Regions from separate parts of the Homo sapiens genome. Here regions 1 and 2 are each linked to region 3. The links are contacts of gene promoters, found by promoter capture Hi-C in blood cells and fetal thymus (Javierre and others, 2016). All regions are on one chromosome and are shown on one strand. The core of a region is centred on a gene start or on the middle of the fragment in contact, and the rest is flanking DNA. Distances in the headings are between cores, read along the strand shown.

Region 1 (2,700 bases), core at 89-2,588, 760 kb after region 3:
TCATCGCGGGGGCACTGGCAATGTGGCGGCGGGGCAGCAGCCTCTGACCGGGCAGGGAGCCGGACCAGCGAGAAACTTAGTGGCGTGCAGGGGCGACCCCGGCCCGGGGCTGCGTCCTGGGAGGCCCTTCTCTGACTCAGAGCAGCCCATTGGGATGCCAGGGGGTGCCCGCGGGCATCCGAGGGCACCATTTGTTGCCCATGCCGCCTTGGCTGGGACACTTGCAGGGTCCAGGAGGTGTCACCAGGCTGGCGGGGCCTGGGTTCAGGACTTCAGCGCTAGGGCACGGGGTGGGGGTGTCTGGGGGGCTGGAGCCAAGTGCCTAGGCTGCGGCAGCTGCGCGCTACCCCCTCCCCTGTCCTGCGGCTCTGCGACGGCACCGGTGGGGGTGGGCGCGGGCCGGTGCCTGCCACTTGGCCAGGCATCTCCGCGGCCCCGGGTGTCCCCTCTGCCTCCCAGGTCTCTCTCTTCGCTTCTAGATACAAAGCCTGGGAGAGTCAACCGCGCGAGATAAGATCACAATTTCAGCCCGTCCCGACAGAACGATCTTATCAGGACGGGACTTGCAGAATGTAATATTTTAAACTTTATCTGAGCCCAGATCGGGGCCGCCCTATCGCCGCACCATCTCGCAGATGCGGGGGAGGGGCAGGCCGCGAGGGGCCGAGCTGCCCGGGCCGCGCCCCCAAACACCCTCCTCCCGGCCTCCGGGCGGCCCCCTCCTGGGCTGAACCCCCCGGTGCCCAAGCCGAGACGCGGGGGCCCAGGCCGCCGGCGGAGATTAGATTACGGCGCGCTTGGCACAGCGCGGGGGGCGCGGCGCGGGGTGAAGGTCGCCGGCGCCCAGGGCAGAGCGGGGACGGGCGGGGGCGGCGCTGGCGGCTGGGCTCCGGCGGGGGTCGGGCGCGCGGAGGGGACCGCGGGCAAAGTTTGACTCACGCTTGATCTGCCGGGGGTTGCTCTGTTTCCGCCTGGACATGTCTCCGGCGCCGCGCGCCCTCCCGGCGGCCGCCTCTAGCCCCGGGCGGGCGGCGGCGGGCGGCGGGGGCGCGGCGGGGCCGCGGGGCCGCTCATGCCCCCGGCCCCCGGTCTCCGCGGCCGCCCCGGCCCGCGCCCCCAGCCCGCGCGCCCAGCCCCGGAGCCGCTGGAGCTGCCGCGGAGGCCCGAGAGGCCACGGTCCTGCGTTGCGGGCGCGCGGACTGCCCGACGGGCGGGTGCCGGCTCCTCCGCTCCCGCGCACTCGCCGCCGCCGCCGCGGCCGCTCGGCTTTTCTCAATGGAACCCGCGGGCGGCGAGCGGCGGAGCAGGCGGCCACTGCGAGGGCGCTCCTGGCGGGCTGGAGGCACGGGGCGGGGCCGGGCCTGAGCGTCGTCGGCCGCCGCACCTCCCGCCCCGCCCCCGGCGCTCCGGCCCCGCCCCGTGCCTCCTGCCGGGCCCTGCACCTCTCCGGCTCCGCCCCCAGCGCCGCGGCCACGCCCCCGCCAGCCCGGCTCTTCGTTGCTCTGGCTCCGCCCCCAGAGCCGCGACCGCGCCCCCGCCCGCCTCGCTCTTTACGGCGCTGGCTCCGACCCCAGCGCTGCGGCCCCGCCCCTGTCCGTCTGGGCCTTCAAGGCACTGTCCCCGCCCCGCTCGATGCCCCGCCCCTTCCTGGTTCGGCCCCGCCCGCGCCCCGGGGAGACCTCTAGCCTCCCCCACTCCTCTTTGGCCCGGAGGTCATGTCCCCAGGCCGCGCTGGGAGTCTGAGACCTATTCGGTTCTGTTCTGCTGCCCCGCGGCACCGCATCCTGCGCCCCGCCTCTCGGCGCCAGCTCCGCCTCCAAACCTGACCCGACCTGGTTGGGTCCTGAGACGCCGAGGCTCCGCCCCCGCACTGTAACTCCGCCCCCAGCCCTTGGTCCCTCCCTAGACCCCTGGGCTCTGCCGCACGCTCCACGTGCGCGGTGGGGGCAGTGACAACCGGCTCAGGAAGCCCGAGGCCTTGACGCCCACGTTTCTCTTGGGCCAGACTTGGGGTGTGGAGCGGATTCGGGCCAGGGAGGGGGCTTCCGTCCCAGACTGCGGTGGGGTCCGCCAACTGAGAGCAGGATCTCGGGTCTTCCCCTGTGAGCTCAGACCAGGCTGGAAATCGAGGAGGGGGCGCGGGAGCCGGCAGCCCTGGGCGTTGCCACTTGGGGCCTCTTTCCTCACCGAGCCTCTCCAGGGCGCCCCGCAGGAGACCCACGAAGGAGTTGCCCACAGCGCCCGGGCCACAGCCCCCTCTCGGAGCAGTCAGAGGTCAGCGAGGTTTGTGGGCGCGGTGCTGTCAGCTCAGGCCTGGAAATGGAGAACTGTTGCCCTCTGGGGTGTGTTCAAGAGCCCCACTTCACGGAGGCTCGGGGACTTGCTCAAGGTCACGCATTGGGGGGCTGTCCCCCACTCCCAGCTGAGTTGTATCATCTCCTTTTAATGTTCTCGGTCTACACTTGCTACCTGCTCCCCCATCCCCCGTACTCATAAGAAACGGGCGTCAGTGGGCCCAGGGGCAGACAGGAAGGACCCCTCCCACCTGATGATGAGATCATCGCACAGCAGGACTGTCACACCACCCGCCAGCCTGCTGGGAGCTCCTAAGACCCCATCTCGTGCCAACTTCTGTGACCTATTCCCTGGCTCCAAGGAAGGGGAGAAGTGGGGGCTTACCCTCAGAGCCTGGTACAGGAG
Region 2 (2,700 bases), core at 111-2,610, 580 kb after region 3:
CAGCCGCACGGAGTTGAGCGCAGCTGTCTCGCGGCCCGTCCGTGCATCGATACAGCCTCTGCACAGGCACTCGGCGAAGGCCAGCTTCTGTGGATAGCGGTCCTCATCCGTGTCCACACTGCGGGACGGGGTGCACAGTGAGTCTCTGGCCCTACCCTGTCCTCCTGGAGGCCCCTCTCCCCTCAGGGCCCCTCTCCGTGTACTCAGGATAGGACCTGAGGCAGCGAGGGCTGAGCCACACGGGCTTGGGGTGCAGTCGGGCTCACATGTGGTGGTAATCCACGTCTCCCCAGGGCCCTCCAAGAGCACAGAGCAGGGTCCGGAGGCCTCTAGGAGCCTCCCTTCCACTTCATCACCCAGCCCCACTTCTGCAGGAGCTCAGGTGACGGGCCCAGAATTTCCCCAGGGGACCCTGGCCACCTAGGACAGTGGGAGGCAGGGCACGGCCAGCCGCAAGCAGCAGCTCAGCCGTCCAGGTCAGGAGGGCCGGAGGGAGGGAGCTCAGGTGGCCACGCCCACTTGACAGGTGAGAACCACCAAGGCCCAGAGAGCTCTCCGGGCAGTCAGGGCCCCGCCAGGGGAGGGGCAGCCCCACGCCACAGCGGAATCCCCAGGTCCTCACCGGTATCTCCAGGGTGAGATGGAGCGCTGGTGGGTGTCTGCCTCCAACACCTCCTCCGGCCGCAGCACCGGGCACTGGGTCGTAGCTGAGGGCCTCTCGTGCCTCCCCCTGTGGCTTGCTGCCTCCAGGCTGGACACCAGGGCTACAGGCAAAGCCTGCCCCCACTTGGCACCTCGAGCCAGCAGGTGTGGGGGGGCCTGGCCGAGGGGCAGTTCCTCAGCCGAGTAGCAGTGTGGGGTACCGTGACTGTGGGGGTGCCCCCTGAGGGAGGGGTCATGGTGGGCCAGGCATGTGTGCAGCCAGGTCAGAAACAGGAGGCCGGGGAGGAGCTGGTGAAACAGGCAGGTGGGTGGTTAGGAGGTGCCCAGGGCAGGGGGCACCTCACTTCCACCTCAGCTTTCCTTGTTCCCAGCGGAAAGATGGAGTACAGCCCTCCCTCTATAGATGGGGAAACTGAAGCCCAGAGAGGCTAGCCCTTCAGCCCAAGACACCCAGCATGCCAGCGCTCCGAGGATCTGCAGCTGCCTCCCCTACCCCCAGACTGAGGGGTTTCCCAGACCCCATCCCAACACCCTCCTCCCAGGCTCAGAGAACCCCAGCCCTTCCATGCCAGGCTGCACATCCAAGCAGCATCCATCCGAGCGGCATGTGGAGAGGCTCACCGTCATGGTGGCGGCAGCGGGGCAGGCTGGGCTTGGAGCGGCCTGCACACCTGGCGGCAATCCCACAGGTGCACCTGGCCATGCACCTGGCAGCAGCCGCTCTTATACCTGAGGCCACACCTGGGGGAAATTCCGGCACCACTTCCTCCTCGGGAAGTGCCCAGCTGGGGCGCTTCTTCCTTCTCTGGTCCCCGCAGCCCCCGCCTGCTGTGCATCAGGACACAGACATGCAAGGAGGCCCCGGGAGGCGCTGTCCTGTTACCCCCCTCCCCCGAGAGAGACTCCGCCCAACCTGAGCACCTACACAGGGTGCTGCCTTGTCTGACATTCTCAAACTTTTTTTTTTTTTTTGAGACAGGGTCTTGCTGTCACCCGAGCTGGAGGGAAATGGTGCTGTCCCAGCTCACTGCAACCTCCACATCCCAGGTTCAAGCGATTCTCCTGCCTCAGGCTTCCGAGTAGCTGGGATTACAGGCACCCCCCACCATGCCTGGCTAATTTTTGTATTTTTAGTACAGACAGGGTTTTGCCATATCGGCCAGGCTGGTCTGAGGCTCCTGACCTCAAGTGATCTGCTCGCCTTGGCCTCCCAAAGTGCTGGGATTACAGGAGTGAGCCACTGCGCCCAGCCTTGAACCTCCTATAAGAGGGTTTCTGCTTGCGTATCCGTCAGCACCTTGCTGATTCAACTTGTAGGTTTTCATCTGGACCTGATGGTGGCGGGGCGCTTTTGCACCCTATACAGTTCTTCTCCGTCTGCTGCTGGTGGGTGCCAAGGGTGGTTCAGTGTTTTAGCTGAGATGGTCAAGATCAGGTGAGGCTCACGTGCCCCCTTCACCCAGGTGGGAGAGGTCCCGGAGATGGGGGAGGCAGGCACGTCTTCAGGTCTCTGTTGGGTTTCTGTGTTGTTTTTTTTTTTGTTGTTTTTTTGAGGCGGAGTCTGACTCTGTCGCCCAGGCGGGGAGTACAGTGGTGCGATCTCGGCTCACTACAAGCTCAGCTTCCTGGGTTCACGCCATTCTCCTGCCTCAGCCTGCCGGGTAGCTGGGACTACAGGCGCCCGCCACCACACCTGGCTAATTTTTTTGTATTTTTAGTAGAGACGGGGTTTCACCATGTTAGCCAGGATGGTCTCGATCTCCTGACCTCGTGATCTGCCCACCTCGGCCTCGCAAAGTGCTGGGATCACAGGCATGAGTCACTGCACCCGGCCTGGGCTTCTGTGGTTTTATTGAGAAAAAAGTTCAAGCTAAAAAGTCTGAGTTGGAGGTGTGAGGAGTGAGGTGTGAGGTGTGAATGAGGCATGAGGCGTGAGGCGTGAGGTGTGAGGTGTGACCAGCACACACAGGAAGCTTTATGTAAGCGGGGCCGGGAGCTGCCTTTGGCCTCCTTGATCGGTGAGGCTGGCTGGGGGTG
Region 3 (2,700 bases), core at 157-2,656:
CAGGCGTGAGCCACCGCGCCCGGCCTAATTTTAATTTTCTTAGATGAAATACTAATATTGTGGTTTCAGTAGGATAATGTCCTTACCCTTAACAGACGCTTTACCAAGTATTTAAAGGTTAAGTATCATGTGTGCAGTTTAATTTCAACTTACTTACACTCAAATAATAATTCACCGTAAGGTTTATTTATTGGGGGAGAGAGAAAACATGGCCCAAAGCTAAAAAGGAGTAAAACGATTGCAGTGGATATTCCTTGTAGCAGATGTTCACATTTTTATTAGATTCAGATTTTCTAAAGCAAAACGTGAGAAAAAATACAGTTAGTCGAAACACACTGTTCACCGTGGATTCGATTACTCCAAGACCAGCGGGACAACGGCCGCATCCCTCCCGCCCCGAGGGCCGGGCCTGGAAGTCCCGGCGGCGAGGGACGCGCGCTCCCGCTGGCCCCCACGGGCTAACTTTCACAGGGAGCTGCACGCCCGGGGCGCTCAGGGGTCTACCTTACGCTTCGGTCCCAACACAATGTGCCAGAAACAAATAAAAAACGTCAAAGCCGAAGCCAGATTCTCACAGAAACACGCCCTGTTCAAAGTGAAGGAAGCAAAGGGCCCCTCTCTCACCAGCTCCGCGGAATGGAAGCGCTGCCCGGGTCTACCGCGAGCGGCGGCGACTTTCCCTTCTGGAAGCGGTGCCGGGGGCGCAAGGCGCGAGGCAGGCGGGCGGGCGCCCACTCCCGGACCAGCTTCCCCGCGGACAGCCCGAGGACACGCGCGGAACTCTCCGGCGCCAGCACGCACCGCCGCAAGAACCGGATCAGCTGTAAGACAGGCGGAGGCGGGGCCGGCGCCGGAAGAGGGGCCGGCGCGTCTTTGGCGTCACTTCCGCCTCCAGCCTCCGGGCCGAAGCTTTGGCCTATGGTGCGGGGAGGTAGTAGTTTCTTCCGCGAGGGTGCGGGAGGGCCCCGGGGCGCCCTTGGGAACCGGGCTGGAGGCAGAGACAGGCCCGGAGGACCAGGCGGACGTAAGGATCAGGCCTCTGGACGCAACTGCGGAGCCGGAACAGACCAGGAGGGCGCGGTTGGGCGGGTACAGCCAGGAAGTGCTCGTCGCGAGCGCGGCCCGCGGTTCGGTCACAGCGAGAAGCCCGCGGGTGCTGGGAGTGCTCGGTCTTCTCTCGATCTCTGCAGGGAGTCACTGGCCCCGTTCCTTTTTATCTGTCTGAACATCACGCCGAACTTTTAACAGTTGATTCCACTGCATTTTCAATGTGGTATTTTTTTTTTCTGTAAATGTTCATCTATTTTTCGCTTCAAATATGCGTTTCTGTTACTTTTCTAATGTACCGTAGGAGCCAAGACCACCTATACTACGTTGCAAAATAGCACTGATACCAGGGGTTCTCCCAAGGTTCATTCAGAAATGTCACATGATTCCAGTAACAATACGAAAAGGTTTTTTTTTTGGAACCAGGCATATTGATCCTGGAGTTCACATGGAGGAACAAATGTCTCATAACGCAGACGACGCGGACAAACAAAAGCGCAATGCCCGACAGATGCGAAAACAGCCTCTGTCATTAAAACTGTGTGCTAGTGACACATGAACAGGAAACAAATGGAATATCCAGACATCAACCCAGTAACATGGAAATTTGGTTCATAAACATAATTTCAGAGCGGTGGAACAAACATGCAGTTTATAATGAAAGGTGCTAAGACAAATGGTTAGCCGTCTGAGAAATGATGAAATTAATTCTGGATCTCACAGGGATAAACTCCAAACGGATCAGGAGTCTAAATGTGAAAAACAAAACAAAACCACATGTGAAGTGTTCACGTGATTTCGTGGCTGATTAAGAAACAAGATGTGCCCAGGAGGTGGCGGTGGCGCACAAGCTTTGACAGGTTGGAGGGTGAGGGAGTCTCACGCACCATGAGATTACCCACAGGCTTCGAATTGGGGGTCACTACTCAGAAAAGAGAAAAAAATGAGCGTGGGCGGGGGGCGCGCAGAGAACTCCCAGAGAAGAAGGAGATCAGACAGGGGGAGGGCTGACGTGACTAGATCACGTTTCTCAGCAGCCTGACAGGTGTCTGAGTCACAAAGCTCTGAAGGGCAGCAACGGCTTGCAGTCTTTAGAGCCCCAGGATTTATCTTATCTATGGCTAGCAGAGATTGGACACAATTTCACGAAGTATACAAAGCAACCACATGCTAAATGGTTCAACACTATGAGTGTTTGGGATGTGTTTTATTTATTATTTATTAATTTTGATACGGAGTCTCCCTCTGTCGTCCAGGCTGGAGTGCAGTGGCACGATCTTGGCTCACTGCAACCTCCGCCTCCCAGGTTCCAGCTATTCTCCTGCCTCAGCCTCCCAAGTAGCTGGGATTACAGGTGCCCACCTTGTAATTTTTAGTAGAGACGGAGTTTCACCATGTTGGCCAGGCTGGTCTCAAACTTCTCACTTCAGGTGATCCACCCGCCTCGGCCTCCCAAAGTGGTGGGATTACAGACGTGAGCCACTGCAGCCACCGTGCCTGCCCTTGGGATATGTTTTTTTTTCTTTTAATTTTGTTTTGTTTTGTTTTTTTGAGACGAAGTCTTGCTCTGTCGACCAGGCTGGAGTGCAGGGGCACAATCTTGGCTCACCGCAACCTCCGCCTCCCAGGTTCAAGCGATTCTCCTGCCTCAGC

Evidence for each region. The method cuts DNA at HindIII sites, captures the fragments that hold promoters and counts their contacts. A CHiCAGO score of 5 or more calls a contact.
Region 1: a contact is called between the fragment with the promoter of ZFPM1 here and a fragment that was not itself captured in region 3, in 4 of 17 cell types (monocytes, fetal thymus, total B cells and 1 more). The highest score is 6.1, in monocytes.
Region 2: the fragment with the promoter of IL17C here is called in contact with a fragment that was not itself captured in region 3 in 3 of 17 cell types (M0 macrophages, total CD8 T cells and total B cells); the score reaches 6.4 in M0 macrophages.

Annotation. Positions count from the first base shown.
Region 1 is chr16:88,451,918-88,454,617 of GRCh38, reverse strand. It overlaps ZFPM1 (zinc finger protein, FOG family member 1), which reads right to left and starts at 1,338. Exons shown (of 10, transcript NM_153813.3): 1 at 940-1,338. The coding sequence starts at 979. RefSeq lists silencers at 334-403, 624-753, 1,214-1,303, 1,314-1,613. The HindIII fragment of the contact is 8,831 bases long and covers 1-2,700 here.
Region 2 is chr16:88,637,232-88,639,931 of GRCh38, reverse strand. It overlaps IL17C (interleukin 17C), which reads right to left and starts at 1,360. Exons shown (of 3, transcript NM_013278.4): 1 at 1,285-1,360; 2 at 623-951; 3 at 1-118. The coding sequence starts at 1,290. LOC124903755 (a long non-coding RNA gene) reads right to left here. Exons shown (of 2, transcript XR_007065181.1): 2 at 2,498-2,700. The HindIII fragment of the contact is 4,920 bases long and covers 1-2,638 here.
Region 3 is chr16:89,215,835-89,218,534 of GRCh38, reverse strand. It overlaps ZNF778 (zinc finger protein 778), which reads right to left and starts at 832. Exons shown (of 7, transcript NM_001201407.2): 1 at 625-832. It overlaps ZNF778-DT (ZNF778 divergent transcript), which reads left to right and starts at 882. Exons shown (of 1, transcript NR_186410.1): 1 at 882-2,700. RefSeq lists enhancers at 1-476, 1,001-1,050, 2,000-2,294. The HindIII fragment of the contact is 989 bases long and covers 912-1,900 here.